2 separate regions of the Homo sapiens genome follow, and region 2 is linked to region 1. The links are contacts of gene promoters, found by promoter capture Hi-C in human tissues and cell types (Jung and others, 2019). All regions are on one chromosome and are shown on one strand. Each heading gives the region's core, a stretch centred on a gene start or on the middle of the fragment in contact. The rest is flanking DNA. Distances are from core to core; before and after follow the strand shown.

Region 1 (4,961 bases), core at 1,248-3,747:
TCATTCCCCATAGGCCTAGGATAGGTCCAGACAGGTCACCTGCAATCTCTAGCAGGCAATCTTTGCTTACTTAAATTCCCTAAACCAAGACTCATCTCTAAATGTCCAAGGTTCTTCTCGCCTCCATAATTCTCCCTATAGAATAAACATATCTATAATGGGAAGCACGATATTTTTGCCAGGGATGGTACACAATATGTAATCACTTGTTTGAAGACAAAATTAGTGGGAGAGTCTTCAACAAAACAGAAAATAAATAGTTTAATTTAATAAGGAGGATGGCATGGAAACTTTACCTCAAAAGCACTTAATTATTTTGTTTTCTCCAAATCAAAATCCTTTGTTGGATATATATTCCATCTTGGTGTTTCACTGTTGTTGCCCAGGCTGGAGTGCAAGGGCACGATCTCGGCTCACCGCAACCTCTGCCTCCTGGGTTCAAGTGATTCTTGTGCCTCAGCCTCCCGAGTAGCTGGGATTACAGGCATGTGCCACCACACCCGGCTAATTTTGTATTTTTAGTAGAGACGGGGTTTCACCATGTTGGCCAGGCTGGTCTTGAACTCCTGACCTCGTGATCCACCCGCTCTGGCCTCCCAAAGTGTTGGGAAAACAGGTGTGAGCCACCGCACCCGGCCTATATCCCATCTTTATTAAATAAATACCACTTGTAATGACATGAATACTATCTCAAAGGTCAGACTAATTTGAAGCCTTTTAGAACCTAAAATCCACAGGTAAAACACCTTAATTTATGGTCACTCATGTGGAAGGTCAATGTTGCTACTCACATAAGCTATTTCTAAGTTCCCCAAACAGATCCCCATCATTAACTTAGAGAAAAGTCCACTATAATAGCTACAAGATTTCTGTGAAAGACGATCATGTTTTATCTTTGTTTGCGCTTCAAGTGTTAGGATAAACGGACTTTTCCCAGGTGCCTCTCACCATCTCATTCCTTGCCTTTCCTCCAAAACAAGCAAAACTAAAACACTAAAAATTTTAGTCTGGTCCATACTAGTCAATAAAAATCTTTCCTCTTGTAAACACTTTATAGCACGATAAGGGACGTAGTTTGCAAAGATCATCTGTACATCCTGTGTAAAAAATAAAAACGCATGGCACACCAAACCCAGATCCACTTCGGTGAATTCCCTCCAGGGCCCAAATGTGTGCATTATGCAACAGCCAGCACTCCCGATTGTAATCCCTGTCTGTGATGCAATGACAAAATATAAATGGCTTGGGTATAATCTGCTCAGTTCGTAAGTAGTAATTCGCAAGAAGCCAACGAATTAAAAGAATTCCCAAATTCTCAGGAACCTTGAAAATGACAAATTGTGTCACAGTTCTGTGAGAATCACAATGAAAACTTTCCCTTCTGGAAATTTTTTAGAAATATGTCCCTCCGGTCCCAATCCCCCAAAAACCCGTACACACGTTTTAATTTACGTTAGGAACGGCTCTCCCAGCGGGGGAAGGTGACCTGCATCAGGTGGTTATCTTCGAATCCACCCGATACGATACCCACGCCGCTTCCCAGACGCTGAAAAGCCAGTGAGATGCTTCATCCTTTCTCCCCAAGGACAGTCATGGGAGTCAGTGTAATCCAGACCCCCGAGCCATAAACCACCCAGGGTTCAAGGCTTCACCTCCTGAGGCACAGGCCTCTTGAAAAATGGCATAATGGAGAGCTGAGAACACAATTAGGACAAAACTGCAACGACCAGCATTCCAGAGGAGGGAGAATCATACAATATCTGTTCCAAAAGTAGTTACAGGTAAAGGAAGGCGGTCAGAGCATCTCTGGAGGCCACCTGGTCGGGTGAACCGAGTCTAAACGCTGAAGTTCCACACCTCCCCGAGTCCGCGTCTCCCCAAGCCAAAGCAATCAGCTCGCACGCCAAGCATCCAGGTGGGGAGAGGGCGAGGGGAGGGGGCGGCAAGCCGCAGCTGCGAACCGGCCCGCGGCGGAGGCGAGCGAAGACGGGCATTCCCTCACACAAAATGGTGGCGCCGAGGCGGAGGCCGGCGCACCTGGGGGCGCCACACGCCCTACGGGATCCCCGCAGACCGCCGCCAGCTGGACGCGAGCCCCGGGTCCAGGCGGCCCGCACTGGTCTGCGCCAGGCCCAGCCCGCAGGGGCCGCCCACAGCCGGTGGCCCGCGTCGCCGCTCGGTGTCCGCGGGTCTGGTGCTGGCGGGGGCGCGGGGCCCGGCGCGGCCGTCTCGGCCTCACCCAGCGGTCCGCGCCGGGGAGAGGGAGCGCACTCACCTCAGACGCGCCCCGGGAGCCGCTGGAAGAGCCCGGGAAAGGAGGCGGAGCCGCGCGAATGAATGGAGCCGGCGGCTGCTCGCTGGCGACCTCCGGCCGGTCCCAGGCCGCACAGCTCGCGGCTGCCAGGGCGAGTGCGGCTGCCTCCCGCTCGCCCCGGACGCCCGGCTCCTCGTCGCGGGTCGGCCGCGGCCCACCGTGCCCTCCGACGACGTGACGCACTAGCGCCGCAGCGCCTCCAGCCTTCGCTTCCGCTCCGCGCCCGCGCCCACCGCGAATCCCCCCGCCCGCCAGCGCGGAGCGGCCCCTCCTCGGAGCCTGGGACGCCGCCCTGCCTCCCTCCAGCCCCGGCTTTCAGGCGCCGGCCCGGCAGGTGCGGGCTTGGCCAGCCCGGGGGCGTCACGCGGCCCCCGCCTCGCCACCCGCGCCCCCTCTCTCCGCCCCGGCCGCCGTCACCCGGCAGCGCGACGCCCAGCTCAGGGCAATGGCCTGGTATTAAAGAGTGACCTTGGCTTAGATATAAAAATAGATGCGGTTAAGCCGCGGGGGCTGCAACGCTGATTTTGCGTATTCCTTTAATGCCGACCTTCGCAGGATTCTGTTCGCATAGCCCGGTGGAGTTCTCCAGCCCCGCGTAGGCCCTCCTGAAATTTACCCAGAGTGGGCGCGGCCATCCCGGCCTCGGGACAGGGGTGCAGAGGGCACGGGCGAGGACCGCCGGCCTCCGCCCCACCACTTTCATCCTAAACCTACTGCCACTTAGGTGCATGCAAGTTAGAATCGTGGGCTGCTTTCACAGTCTACAGAAGTCCTAGAGCCCGGACTTTCATCTGGAGATGTCAGGGAAATACCACATTCCTGCGCTGACCTTTTCTCTTTCACCGTTTAACCGGTACAGAATAACCCTGACCCAGAAAGACAACAGGGTTCCATCCGGCTTTCCTCCCGTGCCTCTCCCAGCTCTATTCTACCGTCTTATGGCCTCTGGCGCCTTTGCTAATTACACACTCCTACTGAAAATTAGCCCTCCAGCATTTAAAACATGATAAATTGTCTTTAAGGTAATGCGTATTGTAGTCTAAATATATTTAATAACTGTATTGAGAAACAATATTGTATCTAAGTATTAATGTCAAGACTTTCTTTTACTCATCATCCAAGAACCGTAGTATTATGTTCAGCTCATCCAGAAAAGTTGAAAATTGCTTCTTTCATTCCTGGGAAATATTTAGCAATCACAATACCAACTTTCACGAATTTACTAATGATTAGCAAAATTAGCAAGATCAAAAAATACTTCAAAGAATGCTTGTTGATATAGATATATTTGACCCTGATTTTTAAAAAAAGCTTTTCTGCCATATAAGAATCTATTGTTTCATTTGTATAATATTTAATTAGCCAAAATCTTTACTATTACACATCATTTACCATTTTAATGAAACTTAATGAATTAGATTTAATAGAGCAGGAATTTTGGGTAGTTGGGTTCTACCCATAGCCAGTGATGAATGAAATTATATGACTTGTATTTACATTTCTAGAGCTATGTGTAAGTAGGAGTCCCCAGGGTAATCCCAAACAATTGCCATTTGGGGAAGCTTTGGCTACCAGACTATGCCCTACAGATGTTGAAGCCTCAGGCCTTAGTGTAAAGCTAACCAATACAACTTGTTGATAATATTTGAAATGCCTGGGTGTGATTGACTCTTAGCTATTGTTTTAGAAGTATGCGGGTATTTGTGCCTGGGTCAGGGAGGCCTGGCTCCCAGATGTCTGGCTATTCTGGTAGGAGACAGAACTACATTCACCCAGACCTATAAAAGAAAAGGTCCAATTTTTTTTTTTTTTTTTTTTTTTTTTTTTGAGACAGGGTTTCACTCCCACAGCCTAGGCAGGCTGGAATGCAATGGCGCGATCTCGACTCACTGCAACCTCTGCCTCCCAAGCTCAAGCGATTCTCCGGCGTCAGCCTCCGGAAGAGCTGGGACAGAGGTGCACACCAACGCACCTCGCTAATTTTTGTAGAGACGGAGTTTCGCCATGCTGCCCAGGCTGGTCCTGAACTTCTGAGCTCAAGCGATCCGCCCGCCTCGGCCTCCCAAAGTGCTGGGATTACAGGCGTGAGCCACTGCGCCAGGCCTGATTCTCTTTTCCCTACTTGCAAATGACACTATTTTTGAGAGTTTTTGGTTTTTTCTTTTTAAATCACCATTGACTTCCCTCTTTGGCTGAGATAAATTTTGCTTATCTTAGTGGGCAAAGAACAACAACTAAAAACATGAGCCTTTGTCAGATTAGTATATGCTGAAAATTGTTACCACAATATTTTGAAATATGCTTTGAGGCTTTTTTCTGAACCGTTTTTAGAGTAAAAGGATTATTGCTTTGGTTTTTGTTTTTGCAATGCTTGCTTTAATTATTACTTTGTTATTAGCAAAGGAAACATGTTAAGAGTTCGTTCTGATTGTATTTTTCCTCTATGTTTAAAGAGGAGTGGAACCATCTTAAGTAAAAGAAGCTTGCCACAACCCTGGATTTTGGAGGTTACTAATACACATGACCCAGAAAAGAGCTCTTTAGTTGCACTGGGGAAGAGGAATTCTTAATAGCTAAAATCATAACTGATGTTTTTGACAGCTAACAAATTGCCAGGCACTCTACAGACTTCTTTATGGAAATTAAT
Region 2 (4,961 bases), core at 1,595-4,094, 300 kb after region 1:
AGATAAAATGAGCCAAAACCAGAATTTGGGAAATTCTATAGGACAAATAAGCCACTTTTTTCAACAAATAGGAGACATAAAAATCCTAAAATATAGAAAGGACTGTTGTAGATTAAAACATATTTAAGATACATAACAAACACATATGATGTATGAGGCTTAATGTATTCTAATTCAAATTAAAACTTTCTATAAAAACACATATTTTAGATAACCTCAGAAATCTGAATATAGACTGGATGTTAAATGGTATAAAGAAACTTAACTTTTATTAGGTGAAATGATATCGCGAGTATGAAAAACTTTTTCTTATCTTTTAGAGGTTTGGGCTCAAGTATTTATGGGTAAAATAGTATTATGTCTGGGATTTCTTTAAAATACTCCAATAACAAAATCAGTTCATGTTCTAGCCAAACAGTCCAGAGTTCTACCACATAATATAATGTATAATCAATTTTCACAAGAGAGTTTACTGCAAGGCCAGGTGTGGCAGCTCCTGCCTGTAATCCCAGCACTTTGGGAGGCCTAGGCGGGCGGATCACTTGAGGCCAGGAGCTCAAGACCAGCTTGGTCAAACTGGTGAAACCCCATCTCTACTAAAAATACAAAAACTTAGCTGAGCATGGTGATACATGCCTGCAATCCCAGCTACTCAAGAGGCTGAGGCACAAGAAGCGCTTGAGCCTAGGAGGCAGAGGTGGCAGTGAACCGAGATCACGCCACTACACTCCAGCCTGGGTGATAGGGGGAAACTCTTGTCTAAAACAAAAACAAAAACAAAAACAAAAAAGGGTTCACTGTAGACACACATAAAATGAATAATCACCATGTCTGAGGCCTATTCTTTCAATATATGTGAATCCCCAAATCAATGCCAACAAACCCCTTCATTTCAACATCCCATACACTCACAGATTACAGGATACTTCAAATAAAAACTTTGTTAAAGTTTTGATAGCTTATTTCAATGCCATTACCTTTACCTACTAACAAGGTAAACCTAATAAAAGAGAAATAAAGGTTAGTCTGGCATGACTTGTTCTTAGTGATGCCTATGATTCCCAAAGAGCACTACATTCTTGCCTATGTCTTCCAACCATATATTTAATAACTTTTTGCACATTTTCTAAGGAACAACATTGAGCTGATCATTTGTAATTCTCAAATTCTAACTTTTCCACTCTTTAAAAAATGTATTTATTAACAGTTTTATTAAGATGTAATTCACATGCCACACAGTCTACCTATTTAAAGAATATAATTCATTGTTTTTTAGTATATTAAAAGGGTTGTATAACCCTCACCACAATCTAATTTTGGAACATTTTCATTCCCCCTAAAAGAAACCCTTTAACCATTAGTTGTCACTCACCATTCCCCACCCTCTAGACCCCCCATCTCTAATCTGTCTCTATAGATTTGACTATTACGGATATTTCAAATTAATGGAATGGTAAGATGTGGATTTTTTTTTTTTACTGCTTTTTCACTTTTAGAAAATAGGATATTATCTTTTAGTATCTCTCCCATAAAACAATTAAGACCTGTAAGATAATATATTCTAGTTCCTTCAACACTCCAGAATGCTTAAAGAAGCTCACACTCCCCAGGTAGTAGGACCAGCATTGGGTTCCCAAGGCTTCCCTGTTTTACATCTTTACTCCTGTGACACCAAAGGCATTTCAGCAATCCAATACCCAGGGCCTAGGCCATTTCTCTGATCATCTTTGCCTGACATCACACCAACTACTGGTTTCAACTTTTAATTTTCATGACTTTTCTCTAGACTTCCACTCCTGTCTTGTCATTCTCTTCTCTCACCACTAGTCAGGATATGCCATGGTGCCAAGAGCATATGAACCACAGGCAGATTGGAGGATTGCAAGAGGGAATGCAGTAAGTGGGGAAACTGGATTCTGGGAATAGAGGCCTGTGTCTTTGGTTCCTTTAACATCATTGAAGGAACCAGAGATTATTTCATATATGCAAAGGCCAAATAGGAGACAGCCAATGCTAGACTGTGAGGCAGAAATGGATTAGAGCCAAGTTCGAAGTGGGGCAAAGGAACAAATAGGAAAGAAAAGAAGAAAAATTAAAATGCTCAGGGCTCACTTTACTCAAAGGAAGAAAAGACTCTTGATCAGTATAGGTCAGCTCTGGGAAGTGAGGGAGCAAATGGGCTATGGTGTTAGACAGAAGAAGTGCTTTGGCGTGAGGTTTCTCTGCTTCTGACAGAGAAAGGATTCACACTGTCACATGTCCAAGCCTGCATTCTTCTGGCCATTAAACTGGATCCTGGGAAGAATTCTCTCCTCCTAGTCCTCTAAACTATATGCAAAAATGACCACCCATCACCAAGATATACATTATCAAACAAGCAAACAAACAATGAAAAACAAACAACAAAAAAAACTGCCTAAACCCTTCTGAAGTACTGTTTCATACTATGAAGGAATATGCCCTGTCTATTCCCATGGCTCCCAGCAGCCTTCTCCGCCTCTGCCTGTGTTAGGCATTTCTTCTGTAAATAGGCAGAACAAATCTTCTTAATCCCAGATAGTTAATACCCTTTCCCATCCTAGAAGTTTTTAAACCCAGAGGCAACTTTCAGTAACTGAAATGAATAACAAGATATCTTCAGCAAGTGCCTCAGCCTTGCAATGTTGTCCCAGGGCCAGAAAAAATGTGTAGTAAGCTAAAATAAATATGGTTTCTGAGATAAACCATGTATACTAGAATTCATAATCTTAATGTTACCATTTATTGCAGTTACTATTAACCAACTGGTATGCAATTATAGTAGTCTGATATTTTAACCTGCTGATATATCCTGGCTGATCATTAAGCTGAACTGATCAGAAACATTATCCTGCCTCAGGCTGATTATGAAAGTGACACCAGACTCCATAAAGCTGTAAACCTCCTATCAGGACTGGACATAACTGCGTAACACTCTATAAGAAGGAAACATTCTTCTAAACCCTATAAAGCACCATATTAAAGGAGTTTTAAAGGAAAACAAGTTGAAAAAAAATACTATGTAACCAAAAAGCTCTATATGGTTATTAAAAGTAACATGTAAAATGACACCTATCATATTACACACAACAAACCCATCACACAGTAAAATTTCATTATAAATTCTAAGTATTCATTAGCAGAATGAAATTAAACTAAAATTTCTGTATGTTTTTCTATTGTGTGGTCCCAGAGATATTTAATATTTGCAAAATATAGTATTTGTTCTGCAAATAAAAGCATCACAGTACCTTATAATGTCCATTCATCACTGCATCATGTAGGGGAGTAATCTGGTATAATCCTTTGATATTTACATCTGCTCCACCTTTTAATAGTTCACTTGCTGTCCGATAAAATCCTCCTACACTAGCTTCATGAAGTGCTGTCCAACCTATCATACAAAAAGATACGGCATTTGTTTACATTTGGCATCTTAATAATGTTTTGTGCTTGCCCTTAAAAAACAACTTTGATTCTAAGTTCTTTCTTCAAAAATATTTTGATTATATGAGTCAAGATAGTATCACCTGAAAGCACACTGTATTATTTGGTAGGTTCAATAAACCTGAAGGACAAATCAAACTCCTACCCCTCAACTCTGCTGTGCAAAAATGTGAAAAGAAACAAAATATTTGAAAGTAATCTTGACCTCTCCAAATAAATAGGCTGTGCAGGAGTCATTATCAACTCAAAGTGAATGCTGGTTGCAGGCTGCTTTTCTGCAGAGATGAGGGGAGAAAAGCTTTATTTCTAGTTCAAGGTACTTCCATTAAAGTATCCAGCTGGCTGGACTACATATCACTCAGTTCAAAAGGATATATTCATTTTTTCTCCTTCTTTACAAAAAGCTATTTATAGTAGTTTAACAAACCACAAACTGCTCCAAGAAAACCAGTCATACAGGCAAATATTCTTTTTCTTTGTTGGCCAAGGACAATGGTATAAGTTACAGATATTTATTAAATTCCAGTAAATCATATGACAGATGTAAGAAAACTTTAAAGTTGCACGTCAAAAGAGACTTTCACTAGCTCTTCTCAGAACACTCATCATAAAATAGGGATTACGAATCTCAGCTTATGTTTCTTAGTTTTTATGAGTATCACAGAATGTTTACCAGCATCCCTGGCCTCAACCCACCAGATGATAGTAGAAACTCCTATCCTAGTTCTAACAACTAAACATGTTTCCAGAAACTGCCAAAAGTCCCCTGGGGAGGGGGTGGGAGCAAAAGCACTCCAGTTGAGAACCACTGCCTCAGGGAAGAAGTTTCTCCTATAGTATTATTACTGAGTTTTGACGAAGAAATGAAGAGACCCCAAAATGGTAAATATATAGTTAACAAGGTTTTTTCCCTATAAATTTCCTTAAAATGAATATGGCTTGTTTAAAGCAAAAGTTATAAAATTTATGTCTGTAGATATATATGATAGCTATAGCACAACGGATATGGGGGAATAAATGGACTATATGTATTCAATGTCCTCATATTTCATATGAAGTATTATAATATTAATTCAAAGATAACTGTGAAACATTAGAGGTGTACACTTAATCCCTAGAGTAACTATGAAAAAATACTGCAAAGACAAAGAAAGAAACAAAATACAGATTAAGCACATAGAAAACAATTAGTAAAATGGCAGACCTAAATCCAACCATTTATGTTAAATGTAAATTGACTAATCATGCTAATTTTCAATTAAAAGGTAAGACTGTCTGAATGAATAAAAAAAGCAAAACTGTCTGCTGTTTACAAGAAACATAGTTTATTTTTGTTCCAACTTTTCTTTTAGGTTAAGGTTGTACATGTGCAGATTTTTTAAATGGGTAAATTGTGTGTCACTGAGGTTTGGTGTACAAATGATCCCATCACCCAGGTAGTGTGCATAGTACCCAATAGATAGTTTTTCAACCCATGCCCCACTCCCTTCCTCCTC

What was found. The method cuts DNA at HindIII sites, captures the fragments that hold promoters and counts their contacts. A contact is called where the count stands out against the background at its distance.
Region 2: a contact is called between a fragment that was not itself captured here and the fragment with the promoter of FAM169A in region 1, in 2 of the 25 tissues and cell types used here (H1 embryonic stem cells and aorta).

What each region holds. Positions count from the first base shown.
Region 1 is chr5:74,863,890-74,868,850 of GRCh38, forward strand. It overlaps FAM169A (family with sequence similarity 169 member A), which reads right to left and starts at 2,498. Exons shown (of 13, transcript NM_001376049.1): 1 at 2,276-2,498. FAM169A-AS1 (FAM169A antisense RNA 1) reads left to right here and starts at 2,004. Exons shown (of 1, transcript NR_134288.1): 1 at 2,004-3,386. RefSeq lists silencers at 1,945-2,114, 2,185-2,434. The HindIII fragment of the contact is 6,065 bases long and covers 1-4,336 here.
Region 2 is chr5:75,165,710-75,170,670 of GRCh38, forward strand. ANKRD31 (ankyrin repeat domain 31) reads right to left here. Exons shown (of 26, transcript NM_001372053.1): 11 at 3,270-3,412. Among named protein-coding and RNA genes, the nearest start is that of ANKRD31, 69 kb to the right of the region's middle. The HindIII fragment of the contact is 3,856 bases long and covers 917-4,772 here.